Linked DNA regions of Homo sapiens: region 2 is linked to region 1. Evidence: promoter capture Hi-C in 16 types of primary human blood cells and fetal thymus (Javierre and others, 2016). All regions are on one chromosome and are shown on one strand. Each heading gives the region's core, a stretch centred on a gene start or on the middle of the fragment in contact. The rest is flanking DNA. Distances are from core to core; before and after follow the strand shown.

The links. Contacts are between HindIII fragments. The CHiCAGO score rates a contact against its expected background, and 5 or more counts as called.
Region 2: a contact is called between a fragment that was not itself captured here and the fragment with the promoter of NPPA in region 1, in 3 of 17 cell types (erythroblasts, M0 macrophages and megakaryocytes). The highest score is 9.4, in erythroblasts.

What each region holds. Positions count from the first base shown.
Region 1 is chr1:11,842,437-11,849,228 of GRCh38, reverse strand. NPPA (natriuretic peptide A) reads left to right here and starts at 1,446. Exons shown (of 3, transcript NM_006172.4): 1 at 1,446-1,667; 2 at 1,790-2,116; 3 at 3,215-3,520. The coding sequence starts at 1,545. The coding sequence ends at 3,220. It overlaps CLCN6 (chloride voltage-gated channel 6), which reads right to left. Exons shown (of 23, transcript NM_001286.5): 23 at 6,099-6,792. It also overlaps NPPA-AS1. RefSeq lists an enhancer at 620-2,410. The HindIII fragment of the contact is 12,440 bases long and covers 1-6,792 here.
Region 2 is chr1:11,886,148-11,893,175 of GRCh38, reverse strand. No RefSeq gene overlaps it. Among named protein-coding and RNA genes, the nearest start is that of RNU5E-1, 18 kb to the left of the region's middle. RefSeq lists an enhancer at 3,743-7,028. The HindIII fragment of the contact is 170 bases long and covers 4,361-4,530 here.

The sequences.
Region 1 (6,792 bases), core at 197-2,696:
CCCAAGGTCAAGCAATTCTTTTACCTCAGCCTCCCTAGTAGCGGGGATTACAGGCACATGCCACCACACCCAGCTAATTTTTATATTTTTAGTAGAGACAGAGTTTTGCCATGTTGGTAGGGCTGGTCTCAAACTCCTGGCCTCAGGTGATCCACCCACCTTAGCCTCCCAAAGTGCTGGGATTATACGTGTGAGCCACTGCACCCGGCCGGTTTTTAACATTCTTTCTCATTTTACACACAAGGAAAGTAAGGCTGCGAAGAGGTATGCAACTGGTTTGTTTTGGGCTACAGTACTGGTCTCTCAGCCCTTCAAATTTAGAGTTTTCCCCCAGTATACGTTGCATTGAATGGTAATGGCTAACACTGAGTTCAGTGCTTAGCAAACAGGCCATTCATTAAACATAGACAGACTTGCTGCCTGTTATTTCCCTTTTGGGGGCCAGGGAAATTGTGACCTTGGTGGCTCGGTCACTTGCCACTTGCCACGTCCTCAGGGAAGGATGTAGAAGGCATTGAGGGAAACTGACTATACCTCCTTCACCCCCACCTCCCTTCCTCCATCGGTCAAGTTGCCACGGGCACAAGCCCAGGAAGGGCAGGGGGATGTTAACAAACTTCAGACACGAAGAGTCTGAGCATCTATAAACAGCAACGGAAGAAATGAAATTGGCTGCGTCCTCTAAGCCTGTCCCCGCAGCATGCTGGAGGAGGGTCGCGGGGGACATGGAAGAGGAGGAGCTTTGGAGAGAGGATGCTTGTGCTCCCCCGCCTTTTCTTGCTATTTCTATTTGGGGGTTGGATTCCTGGGAGCTTCATCACATTTGGTTCTCAGCTGACTTTATATACTAAAAAATAACTTCCTTTCGCCTGACCATGGAGAGGGACTGCCAGGGGTGAAGGCAGCCCTGTCTGAGGCCAGAGGTCTGCCCACGTGGCGGATGAGGCAGGTGTGAGGCCAGCTTGAGCATCTGGATCCATTTGTCTCGGGCTGCTGGCTGCCTGCCATTTCCTCCTCTCCACCCTTATTTGGAGGCCCTGACAGCTGAGCCACAAACAAACCAGGGGAGCTGGGCACCAGCCAAGCGTCACCCTCTGTTTCCCCGCACGGGTACCAGCGTCGAGGAGAAAGAATCCTGAGGCACGGCGGTGAGATAACCAAGGACTCTTTTTTACTCTTCTCACACCTTTGAAGTGGGAGCCTCTTGAGTCAAATCAGTAAGAATGCGGCTCTTGCAGCTGAGGGTCTGGGGGGCTGTTGGGGCTGCCCAAGGCAGAGAGGGGCTGTGACAAGCCCTGCGGGATGATAACTTTAAAAGGGCATCTCCTGCTGGCTTCTCACTTGGCAGCTTTATCACTGCAAGTGACAGAATGGGGAGGGTTCTGTCTCTCCTGCGTGCTTGGAGAGCTGGGGGGCTATAAAAAGAGGCGGCACTGGGCAGCTGGGAGACAGGGACAGACGTAGGCCAAGAGAGGGGAACCAGAGAGGAACCAGAGGGGAGAGACAGAGCAGCAAGCAGTGGATTGCTCCTTGACGACGCCAGCATGAGCTCCTTCTCCACCACCACCGTGAGCTTCCTCCTTTTACTGGCATTCCAGCTCCTAGGTCAGACCAGAGCTAATCCCATGTACAATGCCGTGTCCAACGCAGACCTGATGGATTTCAAGGTAGGGCCAGGAAAGCGGGTGCAGTCTGGGGCCAGGGGGCTTTCTGATGCTGTGCTCACTCCTCTTGATTTCCTCCAAGTCAGTGAGGTTTATCCCTTTCCCTGTATTTTCCTTTTCTAAAGAATTTGCTGGACCATTTGGAAGAAAAGATGCCTTTAGAAGATGAGGTCGTGCCCCCACAAGTGCTCAGTGAGCCGAATGAAGAAGCGGGGGCTGCTCTCAGCCCCCTCCCTGAGGTGCCTCCCTGGACCGGGGAAGTCAGCCCAGCCCAGAGAGATGGAGGTGCCCTCGGGCGGGGCCCCTGGGACTCCTCTGATCGATCTGCCCTCCTAAAAAGCAAGCTGAGGGCGCTGCTCACTGCCCCTCGGAGCCTGCGGAGATCCAGCTGCTTCGGGGGCAGGATGGACAGGATTGGAGCCCAGAGCGGACTGGGCTGTAACAGCTTCCGGGTAAGAGGAACTGGGGATGGAAATGGGATGGGATGGACACTACTGGGAGACACCTTCAGCAGGAAAGGGACCAATGCAGAAGCTCATTCCCTCTCAAGTTTCTGCCCCAACACCCAGAGTGCCCCATGGGTGTCAGGACATGCCATCTATTGTCCTTAGCTAGTCTGCTGAGAAAATGCTTAAAAAAAAAAGGGGGGGGGGCTGGGCACAGTGGCTCACGCCTGTAATCCCAGCACTTTGGGAGGCCGAGGCAGGCGGATCATGAGGTCAAGAGATCAAGACTATCCTGGCCAACATGGTGAAACCCCAGCTCTACTAAAAATACAAAAATTAGCTGGGTGTGGTGGCGGGCACCTGTACTCTCAGCTACTTGGGAGGCTGAGGCAGGAGAATCACTTGAACCCAGGAGGCAGAGGTTGCAGTGAGCAGAGATCACGCCACTGCAGTCCAGCCTAGGTGATAGAGCGAGACTGTCTCAAAAAAAAAAAAAAAAGGCCAGGCACGGTGGCTCACGCCTGTAATCCCAGCGCTTTGGGAGGCCAAGGCGGGTGGATCACGAGGTCAGGAGATGGAGACCATCCTGGCTAACACGGTGAAACCCCGTCTCTACTAAAAATACAAAAAATTAGCCAGGCGTGGTGGCAGGCGCCTGTAAGTCCTAGCTACTCCGGAGGCTGAGGCAGGAGAATGGCGTGAACCCGGGAGGCGGAGCTTGCAGTGAGCAGAGATGGCACCACTGCACTCCAGCCTGGGCGACAGAGCAAGACTCCGTCTCAAAAAAAAAAAAAAAAAAAGCAACTGCCACTAGCACTGGGAAATTAAAATATTCATAGAGCCAAGTTATCTTTGCATGGCTGATTAGCAGTTCATATTCCTCCCCAGAATTGCAAGATCCTGAAGGGCTTAAGTGAAATTTACTCTGATGAGTAACTTGCTTATCAATTCATGAAGCTCAGAGGGTCATCAGGCTGGGGTGGGGGCCGGTGGGAAGCAGGTGGTCAGTAATCAAGTTCAGAGGATGGGCACACTCATACATGAAGCTGACTTTTCCAGGACAGCCAGGTCACCAAGCCAGATATGTCTGTGTTCTCTTTGCAGTACTGAAGATAACAGCCAGGGAGGACAAGCAGGGCTGGGCCTAGGGACAGACTGCAAGAGGCTCCTGTCCCCTGGGGTCTCTGCTGCATTTGTGTCATCTTGTTGCCATGGAGTTGTGATCATCCCATCTAAGCTGCAGCTTCCTGTCAACACTTCTCACATCTTATGCTAACTGTAGATAAAGTGGTTTGATGGTGACTTCCTCGCCTCTCCCACCCCATGCATTAAATTTTAAGGTAGAACCTCACCTGTTACTGAAAGTGGTTTGAAAGTGAATAAACTTCAGCACCATGGACAGAAGACAAATGCCTGCGTTGGTGTGCTTTCTTTCTTCTTGGGAAGAGAATTCAGGCCGATATTCCTTGTCGTTTTACTCTTTGTCAGAGGAAAGAATGCTGAGTTTTTCTTCTTCCTTTCATTTCACCCTCCTTTTTTGGTAGGTGGTTGGGGAGGCCTCAAATTCCACTCCTAGTGGGGTTTTTGTTGTTTTTAGGGGGGAACATTCAGAAAATGAGAGTATTAATTAGATTTTCTCTGGTACATTTCGAGAGAGTTAGGTTCTACAGCTAAGGTAATGGTACTTTTAGTTTTGAAAAGAGTAGGCAGAGTGTTGAATTTAAAAGCTGAGCAGGCCGGGTGTGGTGGCTCACTCCTGTAATCCCAGCATTTTGGGAGGCCAAGGTGGGCAAATCACTTGAGCCCAGGAGTTCAAGACCAGCCTGAGCAATAGAGTGAGACCCCATCTCTACAAAAAATTTAAAAATTAGCCAGGCATGATGATGTGCACCTGTAGTTCCAGCTATTCAGGAGGCCGAAGTGGGAGGATGGCTTGAGCCTGGGAGGTGGAGGCTGCAGTGAGCTGGTATTGTGCCACTGCATTCCAGCCTGGGTGACAGAATGAGACTTGTCTCAAAAAAATAAAAACTGAGCAAAGTGAAGAAAGGTTTGCCATGCAGACAAACTACAAGTTCATGTGCCTTTTGTGTACTAACAAGTATTTGGAAAACAGACATAGTCTTTGCCTAATCCGGGTCTGAAGGGCCTGGGCTTGTATTTTACTAAGAGCTGCTGGAGAAGATGCCGGCTTTTTGTATCTGCTCCTGAAGAGGGTATTTGCTCTGAGCACAAAACACCAGGCAATAAGTTCACCTTAAACAGAGTAAACTGTTTTCCCACCTGTTACCCCCATGGATCCCAACCTCATCAGATTCTATGACACTCCAACACCCCACACCCACACATGCCACTGTGCCTTTATTTCTGCTGTTCCTTCCACCTGGGGTGTCCTTCCTCTGGTCCTCCCGAGGACATTGTACTGATTTCTTAAGGCTCATATGAACACTACTTCTTTCCTGGTACCTCATGCCTAGTAACAATGAGTCCCTTCGTAGGCAGTGTTGCACATGTAACTGTTATAATAGCACACAACACGAGTTGCCTATGTGCAATTGCTTGTGTCTACGTCCCTAGACTGCAAGCTCTTTGAGGGCAAATGCCCCTTCAGCACTCTCAGAGTTGATGCCCCATAAATGTTGGTCAAATTGCCTTGGTCTTGTCCAGAAATTGGGAAAAGAGGAAATGAAGTAGTAACTTGCTCCTTGCGGAGGAAAGGGGGAGGCTCCCAGTGAACTAATGGCAGGGGGTTGAGGTGGGGGGAGAGCCTCACCTAACCACCTCCAGTCAAAATCTTCTCTACCTGGACTTTAAATACCAGGAAAACCAGGGGGTAGAGAATGACAAGGATGAAAGTAAGAGCGACAGGAGACAGCACTGGCCCAAACCTGGCTCCTGAGGTCTGGGATGGTGTTGCGGGTTGCTAGGAGGGGAAGTAGCCCATTCTCAAGGTGTCACCGTAACACAGGTAACACAGGGAGTTCTCATTGAATGAAACTGATTGAAAAATGACAAAAACACAAGGCAGAAAATGCCCCTGGGACTTACAGAACACTTGGGGATGGATGCAGGAGCTGAACTGGCTGCGACCACTGATGGAACAGCCACTTCTGTCACTGATGGAATGATGATTTGAAGCAGATCAGAGACAGAGGCCGCTCTTCTTGCAAAACCAAAAGCAAGCGAACAAAAAGCAATGGCCGATGGCAACAACAGAAGCTGGCCACGGGTCTTCACCTCTCCAGACCCAGCAGCAGTTTCACTTCTTCTGGTTGGACATCGGGGCAATCTGTGTGTGGGGCAACTTCCTAAACACCAGGAAGAAACAGAATGGATTCCCCATCCGCTGCTCCTCCAGGACGCGGCTGCTAGCAGGAGGAGATGAATTCTAGAGGAGAGGATCAGGAAGAGTGTTCATCTGAAGGGAGAAACAGACAACGGTGACCTCTGCTAAGATCCACAGGATGAAATCTGTTCTTATTAAGGTCACTGTCTAATACAGAGAAGTGGACCCGCAAGAATGAAGAGCCCCACTGCCCAGCTGCATAGGGAGAGCTCTGAGACTCTAAAACTACGTCCTAGTGTAATTTCCACACATCAGAAAGAGGGGGAGTAAAATAAAAAGCAAGTATCCCTTGAAAGAAAGAGCAGCAGGGCCGGGCGTGGTGGCTCACGCCTGTAATCCCAGCACTTTGGGAGGCCGAGGCGGGTAGGATCACCAGGTCAGGAGATTGAGACCATCCTGGCTAACATGGTGAAACCCCATCTCTACCAAAAATACAAAAAATTAGCCAGGCATGGTGGTGGGCGCCTGTAGTCCCAGCCACTCGGGAGGCTGAGGCAGGAGAATGGCGTGAACCTGGGAGGCGGAGCTTGCAGTGAGCTGAGATGGCACCACTGCACTCCAGCCTGGGTGACAGCGAGACTCTGTCTCAAAAAAAGAAAGAAAGAAAGAAAGCAGCATGGAGACAAAAGGCTAAAGGAGACAGAGGAGACAGAAGACATTTTATTCTCACATGTTAGGGTTACAATGAGAACTCCCAAGTTCCAAAGGTTCAAATAAAAATAGCATTTTACAAATTAAAAAAAATACAATTTATATACACAGTGGAATTAGCTAACATCATACAAACAAACAGTGCAAACAGAAAAAAGGAAGCTGCGACTGCGGCAATGGCCAAGGTCCGCAGAGCTGTGGTGCAATACTGCACATCAATACTGCAGGGCTGGCGAGGCCACCTTGGGCCTCTCGAAAGGCTTTCCTGTCACCCAGGGTCATGTCAGTGCATAATTCTGCATCACAAATGCCATACAGTGGACTGGGTCCTGAAAGTGTCCCTTCCAGCTGGGAACTGTTAAGTTAATCAAGGTCAGGAGCAAATCATCCCTCAGCACAAGGTCCCAAAGCCAGGGCCGGGGGCCCATTGGCCCCACTCCCTGATCACCTCGCCTAGGGGCCATGGAACACCAAGCTGGAGATGAAACACAAAACACCACTTCTTACCACCCGTAGGCTCCCCATCCACAGATCTGCTTTACTGAGGCGACTGATCACTGGGTGATGGGGCTGCTAATGGGTGAGATGCTGAAAAGGCTGGTTTCTAATGGACAGAAATGGAAGGAGCGAGGGTCACAGTTGATTTGTCATGAGTGGAGAAGTTGCTGTCTTTGGGCTTATCTGGAAA
Region 2 (7,028 bases), core at 3,196-5,695, 41 kb before region 1:
AGCCTGGGCAACACAGTGAGACCCCTATTAAAAAAAGCTAAAGAAAAGAAAAGAACAAAACTTAGTCCTGGCCGGGCGCAGTGGCTCACACCTGTAATCCCAGCACTTTGGGAGACTGAGGCGGGTGGATCACCCGAGGTCAGGAGTTCGAGACCAGCCTGGCCAACATGGTGAAACCCTGTCTCTAATAAAAATACAAAAATTAGCTGGTACAGTGGCAGGTGCCTGTAATGCCAGACACTTGGGAGGCTGAGGCAGGAGAATTGCTTGAACCAGAAGGTGGAGGTTGCAGTGAGCGGAGAGAGTGCCATTGCACTCCAGCCTGGGTGACAGAGTGAGACTTCATCTTAAAAAAACAACAAGAACTCAGTCCTACAGGTGGGCGATTTCTGTTTACTTCCCTTGGAAAGGCTGAGTCTGTCCCCACAAACTGGTGCTTAGAGCACCTGTATCTGGGCAGTGAGTGATTAAGCCCCGGAGTGGGTTGGCGGTAAAGCTGGGAGTCCTGTGCCAGGGGAGACACTAAACAGGTGTTTCCAATGTGTGTTTGTGTCCTGGGTGTTCAGAAGCTGGAGATGAGCTGGGGAGGTTTGTCTTTGGTCCCAAATAGCTTCTCCTAGGCTTCTTTTAGGGGACCAGGAATGCCAGGTGGTCTCGAAGGCAGGGTCCACAGCAAACTGGTTTGCTCCTGTCCTGTGGATGGGATGGGTAGGATGGGAGGCACCTGGGCTGTGCTTCCCCCACTGGAGGTTTGAGATCTCAGAGCTATGGGACTCCAAGAAGCAGGCAAGCTCCAGGGACATGAGGACCCTTTGCAGGGTGAGGAATCAGATTGAGTGAGACACAGGAAGCCCATGGATGGGGAAGGGGGCCTCTGAGGTGGGGCAGGTCTCAGTCTGGAGCTCCTGGGAGTGACACTGGAATCCGTTCATCACCGACGCCCGGTGGACTCTCCTTTTCTGCATTCCACTGGCCAGCCCCAGAGAGGTGGGGGCCATCTTTGGACCTACAGAAATCTTCATGTCACATGCTCCACCAGCACCTCAGCAACTTTATCTCCACCATTTGCTTTTCTCTAGATGCTGAGAGTTCAGGTGACAGGGCTTGGGTCAGCTCTCCTGGTGAAAAGTGCAGAGAGTGGCTCCCAGTCCCACGAGCTGCCCACCCCTTCCCTCACTCACTACACAGCCTTGACATAGCAGAGCAGAAAGGGCAACCTTTGGAATCAGAGACACCTGAGTTTATTTATTTATTTTTCTTTTTTTTTTTTTGAGACAGGGTCTTGTTCCGTTGCCCAGGCTGGAAGTGCAGTGGCTCAATTATAGCTTGCTGCAGCCTCCATCTCCTGGGCTCAAGCGATCCTCCCACCTCAGCCTCTCCAACAGCTGGGACTACAGTTACACACCACCATAGCTTGGCAAATTTTTTCTTATTTTTTTACAGATGGGATCTTGCTATGTTGCCCAAGCTGGTTTTGAATTCCTGGCCTCAAGCAATCCTCCCACCTTGGCCTTGCTGGGATTACAGGCATGAGCCCCCCTGTCTGGCAGCACTGAGTTTAAATCCATGCTCTGCCACTGCTGTGTGACACCTGCAAAGTGCTTCACTCATCTGGGTCTCAGTTTTCCTAATCTATCAGATGGGCACGGCCGACCTGCCCAGTCTGCCTCACAGAGTTAGAGTGACAATTATACAAGACGCTGTGTTTTGCAAACAAGAAAAGCATCATCTCACAGCACATGCTACCTCTCCATCTCTCTCCACAGCTGAATACAGGTTGCAGACACATTTTATTTGAAACTCTCAACAGTAAAAAAAATTCTAAAATTTTTGCCAACATTAAAAAAACAGATACTTACCTAAGATTTTAAAGATATCCCTCTGTCTCTGACAGTACAGGTGCATTCCCACAAGGCAGTACTCAAGCGCACTGAGCTGCTCCCTTCTCCAGTTCCCATAGCCTCCCAAATGCCCAGTATGTCCTCAACACCTAGGCCAAGGGTCAGGTGTTATTTGTTGAAGGGGGCCAGCCCCTCCACACCTGTGGGTATTTCTCGCAAGGTGGAGGCGAGAGACTGAGAAAAGAAATAAGACACAGAGACAAAGTATAGAGGAAGAAAAGTGGGCCCAGGGGACCGGTGCTCAGTAAGTGAGGACCTGCACCGGCCCCGGTCTCTGAGTTCCCTCAGTATTTATTGATCACTATCTTTACCATCTTGGCAGGGGGAATGTGGTGTGACTATAGGGTGATGGTGGGGAGAGGGTCAGTAGGAAAATGTGTGTGCAAAGGAATCTGTGTCATAAATAAGTCTAAGGAAAGGTGCTGTGCCTGGATGTGCACATAGGCTAGATTTATGTTTAACTTTACATAAACATCTCAGTGCAGTAAAGAGTAACAGAGCAGTATTGCTGCCATCATGTCTCGCCTCCAGCCATATGGCAGTTTTCTCCTATCTCAGAATAGAATATATGGTCGGTTTTTTTTTTTTTTTTTTTTTTTGAGACAGAGTCTCGCTCTGTTGCCCAGGCTGGAGTGCAGTGGAGCAATCTCAGCTCACTGCAAGCCCCGCCTCCTGGGTTCACACCATTTTCCTGCCTCAGCTTCCCGAGTAACTGGGACTACAGGCACCCGCCACTACGCCCGGTGTGTGAGACGGGGTTTCACCGTGTTAGCCAGGATGGTCTCGATCTCCTGACCTCGTGATCTGCCCGCCTCAGCCTCCCAAAGTGCTGGGATGACAGGCGTGAGCCACGGCACCCGGCCATGTATGGTCGGTTTTACACTGAGCCATTCCATTCCCAGGGACGTGCAGGAGACAGATGCCTTCCTCTTATCCCAACAACACAGAGGCCTTCCTCTTTCACTAATCCTCCTCAGGCAGACCCTATGTGGGTGTCAGGCTGGGGGGCTGTAAGGTCTTTCCCTTCCCACGAGGCCACATCTCAGGCTGTCTCAGTGGGGGGAATCCTGGACAATACCTGGGCTTTCTTGGGCAGGGGTCCCTGCGGCCTTCCGCAGTGCATTGTATCTCTGGTTAATCGAGAATGGAGAATGGCGATGACTTTTACTAAGCATACTGCCTACAAAAACATTTCTAACAAAACACATCCTGCACAGCCCTAAATCCCTTAAACCTTGAGTCCATACAGCACATGTTTTTGTGAGCATAGGGTTGGGACAAGAGTTACAGATTAACAGCATCTCAAAGCAGAACAATTTTTCTTAGTACAGATCAAAATGGAGTTTCTTATGTCTTCCTGTCTCTGCATAGACACACTAACAATATGATCTCTCTTTCTTTTCCCCACAATTTGTCACCTGGCTGGCTTCATTCATTATTTCATTACACCAACCACCCGGCCCCTGTAGGTGTTTGGGTTGGCAACCCCAGCTTTCTTTCTTTCTTTCTTTCTTTCTTTATTTATTTATTTTTCTTTGAGACAGAGTCTAGCTCTGTCACCCAGGCTGGAGTGCAATGACATGATCTCGGCTCATTGCAACCTCCGTCCCCTGGGTTCAAGCGATTCTCATGCCTCAGCCTTCCGTGTAGCTGGGATTACAGTCGTGTGCCACCATACCCGGCTAATTTTCGTTTTTTTTTTTTTTAGTAGAGATAGGGTTTCACCATGTTGGCCAGGCTGGTCTTGGACTCCTGACCTCAAGTGATCTGCCCACTTCAGCCTCCCAAAGTGCTGGGATTACAGGTGTGAACCGCTGTGCCCGGCCCTCGGCATAATTTAAGTGGGAAGCCCAGTGTTATGATGACTGTCTCCGGTCATTCCAAGGCTGGGCACCTGCTTCTGGCTGAGTCTTGACCCCTCTCTTCTTCTTGGTGCGCCCTCTGGCCCTGCATGTGTACCCACCCACCTGGCACTTTCAGAAGAGTGGCTGTGACTCACTTAGACAAAAACTGCATTTTCCTGTCCTGATAGTCGAAAACTGCTTGGATGAGCCTAGACAATTTAGGGATTTGAAGGAGTTTCCCAAGCCCCTAATGTGTTCTTCCCTGGCTGAGTGGAGTGAGCCAGCCCCATGGGGCCCAGTGCCCTGGTCTCCCCACCATCACCTGCACCAGCCGGTCTCTGTCTTCCCCCTCCCCACCCCATCGTGATCAATGGGACAGGCCCTCAGGTTGCAGGGCATGAACCTGAGGGAGGAGCCAGACCTCGGGCCCTGAAGGGAGCTCTGGCCACTCACAGTCCCTCCAGGGAGCCCCTGGGTGTGGGGTTTGGGCTCTGACTGCAGCAGGAGGAGGCCCAGGAAGGACCCACCCTGGCTTTTCTCCTTTCCAGTGTGTCTCTTTCCCAGAAAAATATGGGTCCTAGTGGCCAGTGTCCCTGGGAGCTGTCGAATCAAGCTTCCTGGATACCTGCCACTCGGCCAGCTGGTGGCACCTTTAGAGGGCTTTTCCTGCCGCTGAGAACACGAATCTGTTGGGGAAAAGACTGCTAGATGAGCCCTGCCAGGTCCCGACACACTGCCTGGCTGTTGCCTGGGACCACAGTCTTTGCTCACCTCTTGGCTAAGCTTTAGCCTCCTTCCAGGAATGCTTCCTGGATCTCAGCCCTCTGGAGTTGTGTGTCTTCATCTGCCCCTAGTTTGCTGTGTGACTTCAGGCAAGCGGCACAACCTCTCTGCTCTACTCGCTTAGGATGCCTAGAAGAATCTGAGCAGAGCACTCTGGAAGGGACTGTGACAGAGGCAGTGGAGAAAGGGCTGGTGCAAGGAGAATGTTTATGTGGCAGCACCATGAGTAGCATGAGGCCGAGGGCTGGGAGCCCGATTTCCTGTGTTCGACTTCCAGTTCTAGGCTGGGCACGGTGGCTCACACCTGTAATCCCAGTACTTTGGTAGGCCGAGGCGGATGGATCACCTGAGGTCAGGAGTTTGAGACCAACCTGGCCAACGCGGTGAAACTCCATCTCTACTGAAAATATAAAAATTAGCCAGGTGTGTTGGTGCATGCCTGTAATCCCAGCTACTTGGGAGGCTGAGGCAGGAGAATCAATCTCTTGAACCCGGGAGGCGGAGGTTGCAGTGAGCAGAGATCGTGCCACTGTACTGCATCCTGGGTGACAGAGCAAGACCCCATCTCAAAAAACAAACAAACAAAAACAAAAAACCCACCAAATTCCGGTTCCATCGCTTGGCAGCTCCATGACCTTGGGGACAATTATAGCACCTACTGCATAGGATGGCTGAGAGGATTAAACAAAATTATGCAAGAGATGCACTTGGCACCATTGAAATGTTCAGGAAAGGCCATTGTTAGGATTGGTACCTGAACAGCATGGAACCTGCCAAAGGAAGAGAGGAGCTCCCGGGGCGCAGGTGTCAGCTCACCCACGATTCCTACAGGTGGAGCTGCGGCTATGAAGCCTTGATTTCCAGGGGTTGGGGACCTGGATTTGAGTCACTTTCGTTTGTGCCACGCCTGAGCATGGCAGACCCCCAGGGAGGAGTTGGGAGTGGGCTCTCGCAGGACCCCTGCCATGGTGGGTGCTGTGAGCTGCCCTCCCAGAGGTGAGTTCTCTGGGTCCTGCCACACAAAACACATGGCAGGGGCGTGGATCCCTACACCCAAACCCATACAAGGCCTTGGACCTGTGCTCACCAACTCAGATCACGGGGATGCAGGGGGTTCACCTTCTCCAAGGAAGGGCCAGGGACACAAGAGAAAACAGGGAGCTATTTTGAGAAGGTGTCAAGGCTGGGACACTAAAATTAGAGGCTTGGTTCCTAAAAAGACATTGGCGCCAACCGAGGCCTTGAAGAGGGGCTCTTCAGCACGGAATGTGACCCCAGGAAGCACGCTCACAATTCTGGACAATGAGGTCAGCCTGCAGGGCGCATGGGACCGCCCAATGGCCGGTGGGCATGGGCACCTCTCCCCCCGCCAGCCCCACCTGCAGAATGCTGGAACTGGCTCCAACCGCTTCCCGTCTGCACTGAGCCAGCGCAAGGGCGAGCGGACAGAGCCTCATGTTCCCGGTGCTGCTGCCCTTCCAGGCTGCCTTCCTTTTTTGACTGTCCTTTTGGCTTCTTATGCTTTTGGCTCCATTCTGGATGTGCGTCATGGGGTGGGATGCAGAAGCAGCAGCCAGCTTGGAGGCTGGTGTTCCCGGAGGCTGAGGGCGGGATGGGGGGAAATATGAACCAGGAAAGGGCCTGGTATCCCCAGCCCAGATGGGCCTAGGCTGCTGTCCCCCAGGGACAGAGAAGCTCAAGACTTTCTTTTTTTCTTTTTTTTTAGGCAGAGTCTTGCTGTGTCTCCCAGGCTGGAGTGCAGTGGCACGATCTCAGCTCACTGTAACCCCCATCTCCCAGGTTCAAGCGATTCTCTGCCTCAGCCTCCTGAGTAGTTGGTATTATAGGCATGCGCCACCACACCCCACTAATTTTTTGGATTTTTTAGTAGAGATGGGGTTTCGCCATGTTGGCCAGACTGGTCTCGAACTCCTGACCCCAAGTGATCTGCCTGCCTTGGCCTCCCAAAGTACTGGGATTACAGGTGTGAGCCACTGTGCCCAGCCCAAGACTTTCTTTCTTTGTCTCCTCCTCTGGCCTCAGAGGAAGCTGGGGAAGTCCTTACAGAGCCGACTTCCTGGGGTGAGGCGCCAAAGGGCTCTTAGTCCCGCTGCTCGGAGATGGAGGCGACCCCTCTCCCTCCTCTCAGGGCCCCGGCCTGGAGTCCAAGGCTTCATCATTTGCCTTTCCTCTTAGCCCAAGGTGTTTTCCCTGGAGAGGGAGGGTGGCAAATTTGATCCTGTCCCCACACTCCTGTTTAAATTCCCTTAGCGACTGCTCATGGCCCTGGGATGGGGTCTGAATTTATCACCGTCCAGAAGGCCCCACAAATTCCAGCCCTGCCCAGCTCTCACTCCAAGCCCTAGACCCGTGACCATCTCTCCTGTTTTCCAACACACCAAGTTCACACCCTCTCCTCCTCGCCCAGCTGAGTCCCACTTACTCAATGTAATGTGAGACAATGGAAATGTCCCTTCCCTAGAGAGGCCTGCCCAGGCCA